Regions from separate parts of the Homo sapiens genome. Here all the other regions are linked to region 1. The links are contacts of gene promoters, found by promoter capture Hi-C in human tissues and cell types (Jung and others, 2019). All regions are on one chromosome and are shown on one strand. The core of a region is centred on a gene start or on the middle of the fragment in contact, and the rest is flanking DNA. Distances in the headings are between cores, read along the strand shown.

Evidence for each region. Contacts are between HindIII fragments. The study calls those that stand out against the background at their distance.
Region 2: a contact is called between a fragment that was not itself captured here and the fragment with the promoter of PRMT5 in region 1, in 1 of the 25 tissues and cell types used here (thymus).
Region 3: a fragment that was not itself captured here is called in contact with the fragment with the promoter of PRMT5 in region 1 in 1 of the 25 tissues and cell types used here (heart right ventricle).
Region 4: a fragment that was not itself captured here is called in contact with the fragment with the promoter of PRMT5 in region 1 in 1 of the 25 tissues and cell types used here (mesendoderm cells).

The regions. Positions count from the first base shown.
Region 1 is chr14:22,927,460-22,931,018 of GRCh38, reverse strand. PRMT5 (protein arginine methyltransferase 5) reads left to right here and starts at 1,643. Exons shown (of 17, transcript NM_006109.5): 1 at 1,643-1,767; 2 at 2,404-2,522; 3 at 2,808-2,893; 4 at 3,359-3,493. The coding sequence starts at 1,658. It overlaps PRMT5-DT (PRMT5 divergent transcript), which reads right to left and starts at 1,410. Exons shown (of 3, transcript NR_110002.1): 1 at 1,267-1,410. It overlaps TRR-ACG1-3 (tRNA-Arg (anticodon ACG) 1-3), which reads right to left and starts at 1,318; the gene lies at 1,246-1,318. RefSeq lists a silencer at 1,190-1,279 and an enhancer at 1,690-1,799. The HindIII fragment of the contact is 24,447 bases long and covers 1-3,559 here.
Region 2 is chr14:22,477,998-22,481,556 of GRCh38, reverse strand. It overlaps TRD-AS1 (TRD antisense RNA 1), which reads left to right. Exons shown (of 5, transcript NR_148361.1): 2 at 199-316. It also overlaps TRA, TRAJ57 and TRAJ56. Among named protein-coding and RNA genes, the nearest start is that of TRD-AS1, 3.2 kb to the left of the region's middle. The HindIII fragment of the contact is 3,170 bases long and covers 407-3,559 here.
Region 3 is chr14:22,494,565-22,498,123 of GRCh38, reverse strand. It overlaps TRA, TRAJ44, TRAJ43, TRAJ42 and TRAJ41. Among named protein-coding and RNA genes, the nearest start is that of TRD-AS1, 13 kb to the right of the region's middle. The HindIII fragment of the contact is 3,317 bases long and covers 377-3,559 here.
Region 4 is chr14:22,602,560-22,605,103 of GRCh38, reverse strand. ABHD4 (abhydrolase domain containing 4, N-acyl phospholipase B) reads right to left here. Exons shown (of 7, transcript NM_022060.3): 3 at 1,342-1,714; 4 at 1,025-1,179. Among named protein-coding and RNA genes, the nearest start is that of ABHD4, 5.5 kb to the right of the region's middle. The HindIII fragment of the contact is 4,371 bases long and covers 1-2,544 here.

The DNA of each region.
Region 1 (3,559 bases), core at 394-2,893:
TCCCCCTGCCCCGACATTATTTTGCTCTTGTTGCCCAGGCTGGAGTGCAGTGGCGTGATCTTGGCTCACTGCAACCTCCGCCTGCCGGGTTCAAGCAGTTCTCCTGCTTCAGCCTCCCGAGTAGCTGGCCGAGTAGCTGGGATTACAGGCGCCTGCTACCACGTTTAGGAGAGACGGGGAGTTTTCATGTTGGCCAGGCTGGTCTCGAACTCCTGACCTCAGGAGATCCACCCGCCTCCGCTTTCCAAAGTGCTGGGATTACAGGCGTGAGCCACCGCGCCCGGCCGGTTTTCCGGCTTTCATTCTTTTGGGGCACTTGCATTGCACCCAGGGTTCCCCAGAACTTATCCTACCCCACACCCTTTTCGTATTTCCTATGGCTCTGTCCCCAACGAGCTATGGTGATCTCAGTCGCATGGCCTCAGTTCTTTTCTTCTAGCGACCTCCATCCAACTTTCTATTACACAGCGCCCCCTAGACGTTCAATTCAGCATGACCAAACCCAAACCCTGATTTCCCAAACCCTCTTTCCGCATTTCTTGCTCACTGCATGGACAGAATCCTAGGCATCACCCCCTACTTTGCTTTCTCAGGACTCCTTGCCAGTCGGTCCCTAAGTTCTGCCAGCGGCGCCTGCGTGGGGTCTCTTGTACCGTGTTCTCCTCTCCATCCTTGCTGCCGAGCCCTCAACACCAGTGGGCCCCCTGCCTTCTGGAGTTCCCATTTACCTCCCTATGTCTTTCCTTGCTTCCTTCCTTTCCATCTCTAGCAGCTAATGACATGAGAAAATGTAGATTCTCTCTGGCCTCCATGCCAGCCAATTTCATGACTGCTGCCCACTGTAATTAATGAATTCCTTTTCTCTATCTTGAGGTGTGTGTGTGTGTTTAGGCGTTTATTTACACCTTTTGTGTTTGAAACACAAAACACTACTTCCTAGAATCACTAGGAAGTAGTAGCTGAGTTAGCAGTTTATTTTAATATGTAACATAGTAAGGTGACAAAGCTCATTTTAATAGCACCAGCCATTAACCCAGTTTTCTCAGTGTTCATATGGACGTAAATAATGACACAAGAAAAACACTTTTGAGGGTAGTTACGGGAAAAGCTGACATTACATGGCTGCATAACCCAACCGACTCAGGATCTGATAATGAAAGCGTGAAGATAATAAAGAAGCATCAAGCTGCGAAAGGAAAGGAAAATTACAAAATGCTCACGCAGCGAAGCTGCGAGGAACCCCACCGAGCCAGCCAGGAGTCGAACCTGGAATCTTCTGATCCGTAGTCAGACGCGTTATCCATTGCGCCACTGGCCCTGAGATGGCACTGTTTCTCTCCGTGATGGTACTTCAAGGTTATACTGCAGGGTTTCATGGGCGGTGTAGTCTCTCAACGGCGTTCTTCAGATAGACTAAGCATTCTGGGAGATTGAAGTTCGTCAGGAACCAGACCCTGAGATTGGTGGATCCATGCCGTACGCCACTGTGCAGCCCGCGGATTGGCAGGAAAAGCCACTCCCCATCCCTCCTGTTCGGGAGCTGTGGCAGACGCTCTGGTTGTTAAGGCGACTCGTCCCGCCTTCTGGGGCACTAGTTTGACTTTGTGATTGGCTACTAGTATCAAGGAATCCCGGCGTGGACAGCGCGAGGAGAAAGATGGCGGCGATGGCGGTCGGGGGTGCTGGTGGGAGCCGCGTGTCCAGCGGGAGGGACCTGAATTGCGTCCCCGAAATAGCTGACACACTAGGGGCTGTGGCCAAGCAGGGGTGAGGGCCGGACCTCCACGAGCGGAATGCGGGGTCCGAACTCGGGGACGGAGAAGGGCAGACTAGTCATCCCGGAGAAGCAGGGGTGAGGGGGTCGGCTAGGATGAGGAGGGGAGAGACTATTACTCTTTGGAGGGGAGGAGCCTCGGACCCAGTAACGTGAGGAAAATAACTTGTGGGAGGCCTGTGGTCACTGAGTCCCAAAGTTGGGAGAGTTGTTGGGTAAACTCTAAAGGGCCCTGGAGGTCGCGATTATTGTCTGGGAGTGGGAGGAGGTGTTAGGGGGCAAGGGAGAGAAGAGGCTAATTTTGACGGGGGAGGCATGGGCAGAACTGGGGCAAATCTGGATGTGATGGTCTTGGAAACATACTGACACCTGAGGAGAAAAAAATTCTACTTGTGGATATCCATCATTTTCTCCTTACTCATATGTCCCATGGCTGTGTTTTAGGGAGAAATTGAGGCACAGTACAGCAGAGTTGATATCCCCCAAGGTGGTCTGAACTCAGCAGCCTAGTAGGCTGAACTGATGGCAGCTGAAAGGGCTGTGCAAAATCAAGATAGCCTAAATCCAGTTGCTTGGCTCTCTGGCACTGCTGCTGTCTTTACATGATTCTGGGTCTGTCGCGGTTGTAGGTTTGATTTCCTCTGCATGCCTGTCTTCCATCCGCGTTTCAAGAGGGAGTTCATTCAGGAACCTGCTAAGAATCGGCCCGGTCCCCAGACACGATCAGACCTACTGCTGTCAGGAAGGGGTAGGGACCATCCCATATGCCCCTTAATTATTAGAGGCAATAACAACTTCTGCTTTATCGGGGCCCTCATTCTCCTCCTTTTCTGACTTGGATATATTTGTTAGTCCCTGGGATATAGATAACTTGTTTTCTCCTTGCTTCTCTATTCTGCATCAGGCTATCCCATGTCTATGTAGAAAAAACCTTTGTCTCTCATTTCTACTCTTGATTCCCAAAACTAAAAATTGAACAAGTAAAGTGCTGAACCTTATTCAGTATTTGTCTTTCTTGGGTGGGGGAGTGCAGACTGGAATACGCTAATTGTGGGAAAGCTTTCTCCATGGATTCGTCCAGACTCAAAAGTGGAGAAGATTCGCAGGAACTCCGAGGCGGTAAGACTGTTTGACTTCTCTGCTGGATTTTTCTAACCAAGCTGGGTGGGGAGAGTGGTCCCCTCCCATCCCCAATAACTTGGTAAATTAACTGATAGAATGAAATTAAAGCTATTAGGCTGGGTGCTGTGGTGCACACCTATAATCCTAGCACTTTGGGAGGCTGAGGCTGTAGGATCACTGGAGCTCGGGATTTCGAGACCAGCCTGGGCAGCGTAGTGAAACCCCATCTCTATAAAATATACAAAAATTAGCCAGGCATGGTGGTGCATGCCTGTGGTCCCAGCTACTCAGGAGGCTGAGGAGGGAGGATCAGTTGAGCTTGGGAAGGTCAAGGCTGCAGTGAGTGGAGACTGTGCCACTGCACTCCAGCCTGGGTGACAGAGTGAGACTTTGTCTCAAAAAAAAAAAAAAAAAAGCTGTTTGCTTGTTAGCTCAAACTTTTCCTCTTCATCTCCGTTCCAGGCCATGTTACAGGAGCTGAATTTTGGTGCATATTTGGGTCTTCCAGCTTTCCTGCTGCCCCTTAATCAGGAAGATAACACCAACCTGGCCAGAGTTTTGACCAACCACATCCACACTGGCCATCACTCTTCCATGGTATAGCTGAGGGGCTCCTTTCCTGCTGCATATCATAGTAGTCAGATTGTGCTAAGTACCTTCTTG
Region 2 (3,559 bases), core at 742-3,241, 450 kb after region 1:
ATTAGGAGAAAATCTGTTTGCCTCTGTTCTCCTTCCTCCTCCCCCTTCGTCTTCAACAGTTTTAAACTATTTATAGAAACATCCCTTTAGGGTTAGAGAAATGTGGCAAATTTCTAATCTCTTCATCCTTTTTCTTGCTATCTATTTACCGCAGTCATGTATTTACAATCTAAATTTACATTTCATTTCCATTTGCAGGAGCTTCTAATGCACTTCTCTATTACTTCAAGAACACTGTGTATAATAATAAACTCTACAGAAATAAACCAAATCACAAGAAGCTTTCAGGTCTGGAGGCTGACATTTCTCAAGACAGGTATGGGGCAAACAACTTATTTCTCTTCCAGGCAAGACTAAGATAGGGGCAGCCCAGTCAACTGAGCAACTAGGCTTGCAGGGTGGACATGTTATGTCTAAATAACTATCTATTGAGCCTTGCTCCTTGGGATTAATTTGGATTTTCTTTTTAATCTAGTTCCCAAATACCAGCTTCCCATCTTTTAGCTCTTAGAATCTCTCTGACAGGGAAAGCTTAAGTTAAATCTCATGGGGTTTTTGAATCTCAACAAATATTTCACCTCAGTACACATCACAAATAGAGGCAACAAAAGAAGGATGAATATAACACCTTTGGGAGAGAATTTATAACAGTTCTTTGGGAAAGATGGGAATTATAAGAAAAAGTAGAATTGTGTGTGCTTTTCCTGATTATCATTTTTAGTATCTGCAGGACTGTAAATGTCCAGTCCAGTTTGGAAATGGAGCAGCTGACTCACCTGCTCTTTAGACCTTTGTTAACCAGTGAACACACAGGTTAGCGTGGAAATGCTTTTCTCTCTTATGCTGTTTTAGGCATAAGAAACTTTAGGAAGGTCGCATGGGGTTCACATAATACATACTAGGACATTCTGATTCTAGCCATTCTAATGGGGATAATAATTTGGTCATAAAAGTAGTTTTATTTTAAGATACTCATTGAATAGTTGGTATCTTTTGGGAATTATGAGCAAAAGTTAAATCCCAAACAATTGTTTGAAATGAGCTTGCATTATCATAGAAAGCAGAGATTCCCTCATGGAACAAAATTTCAGCTACATTCAAGTTAACTGAAATTAGGTTTGTTTTGAGAATGGTGGAGCAATACTCAAAATATTCCCCCAAGTATTGCATTTGGATTAGGGAATCCTTCTCTAAGCTTAGTTGCCACCTTTTCAATGAGGGACTCAGAAGTGAGTGGGTATCAAAAGGGGCTTCTCTGGTGCAGAAAGCTCAGACAAGGCAGAGATGAAAATGTTCCATGAGGACCCAATTAGAAATGCAGCAGTTAACAGCACCCTGGGGCTTGTTTTCAGAAGTTCGTGGTCTTTCTGACTAATTTGAATATTTGCTTTCAATCTTAACTTTTCCCTAAATATCAGCTTGTAGTCAGTGTCAGTACCAGAAAATCTTACACGGCTTTACCCAATTTAGCTTGGCTCCAAGATTTTGAGTTATGGGGATTAGACAATTCTTTTCCTAATTGCACCAACATGGAAGCTTTGGGAAGACAAGTCAGCTGACACGGAGTGCTGGCTCAGTTGTTTAATCAGCAGGCTACATCTCACTGTTTCCTTTTGGATTGGGTTGCATTGCATACTCCCAGCCATTGGTATGTATTTTAGTCTAATCTGTCCTTCTTTTGTCCTTTCTAAATGCTTTCTGCCCCTACACACTAAAACTTCAATTCAGATTCCATTTGTCAGACACATATCTCCAACATTAACAAAAACACACTGAACATTCCCAAGTACTTAAAGGTGTTAAAGAAACAGTCCCAAAGGGGCTGCAGTCAGGGGCTGCCCACATTGTCATTTTCTCCAGAAAGACCCATGGTGAAAGATGCTAATAACTGGGCAGGAGATTCGGTTATCTTTCACTGAATTTCTAAGGATGGTGGCTTATGTTTGGAAACAAATAACATTCATTAAAACATACCTGGTCTAACACTCAGAGTTATTCCTTTTCCAAATGTCAGCTTACTATTGGCTCCAGTATAACACAATGACACGAGGATCTACAAAAACTCAGTTGCCCAGACTCCCCTTGATATTTACTTAAGTGCTTACTTGTCATCCAAGAATCCCCCTGATAAAACCAGCTGTTTATAGTGTGGGACTGGTGGAAGAGTTTACGGACCACCTGGGGCCTTCCTTTCTCTTCACACTCATTGTCCCCTTATTGGAAATGTACCAACATCCCCTCACAGCACGCCGGCTGTGGTAAAATGGGAACAGGAACTGCCTCCCCCATTCTACAGAGGAGGAAAATAGAGGCTCAGAGAGTTAATCAATTTTCTCTTAGTCCCATGGAAAATCTCACCAATTATAACGAAGAATGAAGCCTTCGAACAGTCTGACTCCTTAACTCAGTGCTCCATTGGTACTGTCATTCTCAGCTATTAGATAAAATAGCACATGAGGGCAAACAACAGAGACCTGCGTGTAGTAGGAATACACCAGCAGTTGTTTTGCACTGGAATCCATTAATGGGACTGCTGTGGTTTGGACCTGGGTTATAAAACAGAATGGAAAATTTGGAAATCAGGGTTCCAGGGAGAAATTTGGAAGCATTATTCAGACTTACATGGGTTTACTGTCAGTTTCGTTCCCTTTCCAAAGACCAGCTTTTCAGATCCGCCCTGAGTTACACCCCCACAGACTGCTTTACAAATACTGCCAAGACCCTTCCATCATGGGCTGGGAGCCAGGGCTCCACCCACTCTCCCAGGGGAAGCATAAAATTATACAATTGTATAGCTATTCCCGAAAAGGGAGGGGACCTATAGAACAAATCTGATTACTTTTTTACCTTACAGCCTGTTAGGTTGTTATCTTATTAATTAAGTAATTAGTTAATCTAACTGGTCAGCAGTTGCAGTTAATTTAAAAGAGCTCAGGCTTTGGGGCAGGTAGGCTTGAGTTTAAAACTCAGGACAAGTTTCCTAACTTGCTACACCTCAGTTTCCTCACTTGTAAAGTGGGGAAAACAGCAACTGCTTGATGATGTTGTAAGGATTAAGAATATGTAACTGGGTCACCGTGGTCCTGTTGACCAACCCCTGGCTTTACTTGCTGAGAGCGCAGTTCTTTAGCGATTATCTTAGCAACCTTAGAGACTAGAGCATCAGGGACATTCCCTCTAGACATAATCCCCTCACTGAAAAGCTTTTAGCTCTGGAATCTGAGTGCCAAGAATTAAACTCCAGGTTCTCTTTCTTACTTCATCGGCTTGAACAAGTTATTCAACATCTCTGTGCTTCTATAGAAATATAAAATATAAATATATCTCTTCTATAAAATGAGGATAATAATAGCACCTAACTCACAGACCTGGTATAAGGATTAAATGTGATAAGAGAAAGAATGCAGCACATCAACTAGCATATAGAAACCAATGAGTAAATCATCATTATTATTTTCCTCCCAAGCAGGCAAACATATCACCAACGTTCCTCTTTCCACAATGACCTAAAAATGAGAAAGCCCTTGGGCACTTGTCTTCCTCTAACTGCTAAACTAGA
Region 3 (3,559 bases), core at 786-3,285, 430 kb after region 1:
ATTCTACCAGACAACACAAGCATCAACTCAACAGGGTCCTTGCCACTTATCTGTTGAGGACACACTTCCTTGGCTATGCCATTGCTTTGGTAGCTTCCCTTTTCATGGCCTTGTTTCTGTCTCTATCACAAAGCTTTGCTTCTTATCTCTGCCTTTCCCAAAGCCACAACGTGCTTTGTGGACCTTTGAAAAACAGTGATTGCAGCATTAGTACAATTTATCAAACTGCCCCGAGACCTGATAACCAAATCCAGCCTCCAGGGAAACATGTATTCATATCTTGCTCACACATCAGACATAGTTAACAACTGCATGCTAAGCATAGCAATTAAATTCAGCTGTGTTTCAACAGGTCCCATTGGATTTCTTTCCAGAGAGGACAATTAGTAAACCACAAAAACTCACGGGGTGTGACCAACAGCGAGGTGCCTTTGCCGAAGTTGAGTGCATACCCGGAATTTGAGTTCCACAGTGCGTTCTCCCTAAACAAAAAACCCCTTGCAGTAGCCACCATGTCCCTTCTCCTATGATTCCTATTAAAGCTAATGTCTGAAAACCAATCACACAGCAGTCACACAGACTGTGGGTCATCCATGGGCCCTTGATGGTGTAAATAAAGCTTCCCTCTTCCATGAGACCATTGCTGACAAGGTCACCACTCCCCACAGTGATGTGGGTGATCAATATTGAGATCTGCCATCTGAGGGAGGGGGCCCTGTGACATGTTATGAAGTCTGGAGTTTTCCTATGTCCAGCAGAACGACGTGCTGGTCTGGACTGGGAACAGCCAGGGGCATGGACAGAAACAATTCTGTGGGGTTCAAGGGTGAAGGTGGGGGGAAGATATCACAGAGAAAGGAGTTGGTAAGTCTCTTCTCACTCACTCTGCATTGCACTTTAGTTGCACTTACTGCTTTTGTTTTCACTTCACCAATGTTCTAACAAGTTAAGGGTATAGGATGTTAAGCAAGTTTCCTTAGTGTGTCTCCAAAACAGTCATTGGAAGGTCATTCTAGCCCACTTCATCCCATTACACATAACACATATCACTCTGGAAAAGTTATCTGAGTATTCAGGACTCTCTGTTCTCTATTTGAGAGCCCTTTCATTCTGTTGCCCAGAGTGACAAAGTACTGATGATAAATCAGGACTTTGAATCCCCAACACTTACTTGGTTTAACAGAGAGTTTAGTGCCTTTTCCAAAGATGAGATTTCCTTGGCTTCCTCCATAATTCACACAGTCCTATGGGGCTTTACAATAATCAACAGGTGGGAAGGATGGAGGGGAAGGCTGAGCAAGTGAGATCACCTTCCCCTCTAGTGGAAGTCTCCCCACCTTGCAGCCTCTGTTTCCAGTTCCTTTGCAAGGTCAGGACAGTTCTCTAAAATTAACAGCTGGCTGTGCAGATAGATCTGAACTTGATCGTAAATCCCCTGTTTTGTTCCTAGGACACTGGGTTCTGACAGAATGCTTGTGCCAGAGGCACAATAGCAAGGTTGGGCAGAAACATCCCACCCAGCACAGGAGGTCAACATTGAGGTCCCAGGGGCTACTTTAGGGACCAGGAGCACCATGCCACTTTCTCAGCCATATTTCTTTTTCTTTCTTTTTTTGAGATGTAGTCTCGCTCTGTCGCCAGGCTGGAGTGCAGTGGCACGATCTCGGCCCACGGCAACCTCCGCCTTCCGGGTTCAAGCGATTCTCCTGCCTCAGCCTCCTGAGTAGCTGGGACTACCGGCGCATGCCACCATGCCCAGCTAATTTTTTGTATTTTTAGTAGAGATGGGGTTTCACCATGTTGGCCAGGATGGTCTGCATCTCTTGACCTCATGATCTTCCCGCCTCGGCCTCCCAAAGTGCTGGGATTACAGGAGTGAGCTACCGCACCCGGCTTATATTTAGCATTTTTATATATCCAGAGCCAAGCCAATGAAGAAACCAGTGAAATTTTCTACTTCTTCTTGACCTAATCCTTAAGATTGCCAGAATTCATCAACTAACAGACTTCCAACCAGCTCAGGGTCTCAGGCACAAAGAAACCAGGTACTTAGATCCTCTTGGGAGTGGCAGTGTCTTAACCCCACAGAAACTGCCCAGAACAGCACCATTGCTCACTCAGGTCAGCTTTTAAGATTGACCCATTCCCCCAACTTACTTGGTTTTACTGTCAGTCTGGTCCCTGCTCCAAAGCGCATGTCATTGTTATTGTCACAGTAATACATGCTCTAACAAAAACCTCCTGGGGAAAACTTGCAGCCACCTCCCAGCATGGCAGGGACAAGGGGGAGCAGCACTGACAAGTACCACGCCACACACAGTTCCATTCTCCTTTTCCTACAGAAATGGGGTCATTTTGTCATGCTTCTAGACTGTAAATATGGGCACTTATCAGTGCACTGAGCACAGTTAATTGAGACCCCAAATTGGCACACTGGGACATAATCAGCTTTCAAACAGGTCCCCAAATGGTGCATAAACCAACACTGCAAACAAATTATGCCCAGGTACACTATTTGTCTTCAGGGACAACTTTTTATGAAGAACTACCTGAGAACTTCTACAATTTGCATCTTACTCATGGGTCAAAATACTCAAACTACTCATCTATGTAATTTCATATAAATTATCATGTATTTGTTTCATAATTGCACATAATGAAACATGGCAGTGCTTTGGGGGAGAGGAGTTGGCATTTGTTTATGTTCTTAGAGGGTCAAGATTTTGCTTTACTTCACCAATGTTCTAACAAGTTAAGGATATAGGATGTTAAGCAAGTTTCCTTAGTGTGTCTCCAAAATAGTCATTGGAAGGTCATTCTAGCCCACTTCATCCCATTACGCATAACACATATCACTCTGGAAAAGTTATCCGAGTATTCAGGACTCTCTGTTCTCTATTTGAGAGCCCTTTCATTTTGTTGCCCAGAGTGATATCATCAGAGACAAAGTCCTGATGATAAATTAATTCCCAAACCACTGTTCTAAAGGAAATACATAGGGTAATAAAGACTGAAGAAGCTTGGAGCAGAGAGGTTCTGTTTTCACAGGTGGAAAGGAAAGCCTCCGTAACAGGTATAAAAATAGCACAAGAACTGACTGAATGCAGGTATGTGTCCTCAGTGAGATCACCTCCCACTGGAAGGAAGGAAGGACTACATCCAGCCAGGATATCCCCTCTGCAGTATCCCCTGTTTTAAAGGAACACACAGTTAAGTTACCTCACGGTTTCTGTTACCTACCGAGCGTGACCTGAAGTCTTGTTCCAGTCCCAAAGGTGAGTTTACTGGCAGTGCCGGTATTTACACTGTGAGATGCTTCATAACAGAAACCTGTTGCTTGACTTTCCATCTGGTGTTCACTCCCTCACTCAGAACTCTCCCCATGATCTCTCCCAGATGGGCAGCCTGGGTGAGCCCTCACAGATGCATTTCCCTTTCCCAAACTCCACAGTATTAATTCCTATGAGGGCAGCTGGGCTCTGGCCAGATACTCACTTGACTAACATTACCTGCTGGTTGCCCTCTTTGACCTCAGTTGGTCATGGGGTGCTGACTAGAT
Region 4 (2,544 bases), core at 45-2,544, 330 kb after region 1:
GACACAGAGCAGGTGAAGATGTGGTGCTTGCCTGGACAAGTGCATGGTTCAGAGGGGCTTGCCTGCCACTGTGGGTTATGTTGGAGGCTTTGGTTCTGACCTCTCCCTGCTGCAGGTGTTGGGTGAACCACAGGGATGGGATCCAGTGGTTACTGGGCATGAATCACCAGCAGGTTTTCATAAAATTTCACACAGATTGGGTGTGGTGGCTCATGCCTGTAATCCCAGCACTTTGGGAGGCTGATGCGGATGGATCACTAGAGGCTAGGAGTTCAAGACCAGCCTAGCCAACATGGTGAAACCCCGTCTCTACTGAAAACACAAAAATTAGCCAGGTGTGGTGGGGTACACCTGCAGTCCCAGCTACTCAGGAGGCTCAGGCAGGGGAATGGCTTGAACCCAGGAGGCGGAGGTTGCAGTGAGCTGAGATCACACCACTGCACATCAGCCTGGGAGATAGAGTGAGACTCTGGTAGCTATTCTGCTCCACCTGTTCCTGGCATAGGAAAAGCTTTTCCCATGCCGATGAAGAGAAAAAATACAAAAAACAAAAAACAGGCCAGGCGCGGTGGCTCACGCCTGTAATCCCAGCACTTCGGGAGGCCGAGGCAGGCGGATCACGAGGTCAGATCGAGACCAGCCTGGTTAACACGATGAAACCCCGTCTCTACTAAAAACACAAAAAATTAGCCGGGCATGGTGGCAGGTGCCTGTAGTCCCAGTTACTTGGGAGGCTGAGGCAGGAGAATGGCATGAACCTGGGAGGCGGAGCTTGCAGTGAGCCGAGATCGCACCACTGCACTCCAGCCTGGGTGACAGAGCGAGACTTTGTCTCAAAAAAACAAAACAAAACAAAAAAACAAAAAACCTTCTCAAACCTTGAACAAAGTGATCTGGTTCAGATTAACAGCTTTAAATAACAAGGCTAGGCCAATTTCCACTTTTTAGGAATAAGTGGGAAAGACACTGTGGGCCTTCTAGAACGTTATAGCCTTCCTTTAAGGAGATACTACAGGCTACTCACCCCAGGGCCCAGCTACTCGAAGAACAGCCAATGGATTGGAACGTCCTAGGACAGATGCCACGGCTTTGACCCAGGCTGGGGGTGCACGGATCTCACTGGGGTTAGTTGGTCGGAGGGGAAAGCCCCATGGGTCCACCAGGATGAGGTGTTTAACTCTATGTTAAAGGCGGAAAGAGGAGAAGACACATTATATTCTCTGGTAGTTGCCATAGCCCCTTAAATCGCCTGGGAATGAGAGAAGTTTGGAAATGAATACTGGAAAGTTCCCAGTAAGGCCAGGAATTAGGTCACGAGGGATGGAGCCATCTCCTTATTACCTATCAGGGTACTTGATTGAGTAAGAAGTGGCCAGGAATCCTCCCAAACTGTGCCCCAGGAGGATCATGCTGGGGATCCCCATGGTCTCCCGCCATGTCTCTATCGATGTCACAAACTCATCCTCAGCCCCCTCCGGGTCCCTTGGGAATGCTGGCCTTGAGCTTCGCCCGAAGCCAAGCAGATCGAAGGTGTGCAGTGTGCGGCGGGCACTCAGTGAGTCCATGTTGAGGATCCAGAGACCCACGCCGCCCCCAAAACCATGCACCATCACCAAGGGGGTGCGGTCGTTTTGCTCGGGGCTCACAGTCACCGTCCAGATCTTATTCTGGTTTGGGAGGGATACATATCTGGCCAGGAACTTATTCTGGAGACCTGGGGAGGAAAGAATCCCATGGTAAGTCAATAAGTGTTTCCTGACGGCATCATCATTTTGCCTGGACTACCACTCTTCACATTCTCTCCATTCCCGAACCCTCCCCAACTTCCCTCAGCTCCTTCCTCTCACAACCCTCTGACCACTGAAAACAACTCTCTCCTTAACCAAACTTTAGGCAAGCCCTTCTGAGCCCTCTTCTTGACTAGGCTTTGACCTTGGCCCCTGGCCTGTCTTCCAAATGTCTAGCTCAGTCTTAGCAAGAATCCTGCAAAGTCAGGATGAGTAAGTCATACATCAGTTAGTAAGAATTCCTTCATATTTGATCAAGTTCCTCATCCCTCACCTTTGACCTTCCTTCAGCAATGATCCTGTTAAACTGGTTTGAAAAGAACTCCCTTTATCTTTGATATCTCCCTTTATCTTTGATATCTCCTCAGCAATTTTCTATCCACTGACCCCCCTCACCATGCTGCTTGGTTATAAATCCCCACTAGTCCTTAATGTATTCAAGAGTTGAGCCTGATCTCTCTCCCCTATTGCAGTAGTTTTGAATGATCTTTACCGATTTAATCTGTCAGAATCACTTTTTCTTTAACACTACACACTCTAAAGAATTCAACTCCAATCACATTTACAGACCATGTAGTCTGTACATAATAAGCGGGACCGTCTTATCCCTTGAAACAGCGTGCCCAGCTCCCTTTAGCCCCAGGTGGTAGTGACACCACCAACCCCACAGAGCTCTTGCATCTATTGCTCTTGAACCTGTGTGTGCTTGGGGCTTGATGGATGGACAGAACTGTGGTCCAGCCAGTTGGAGGGAGTG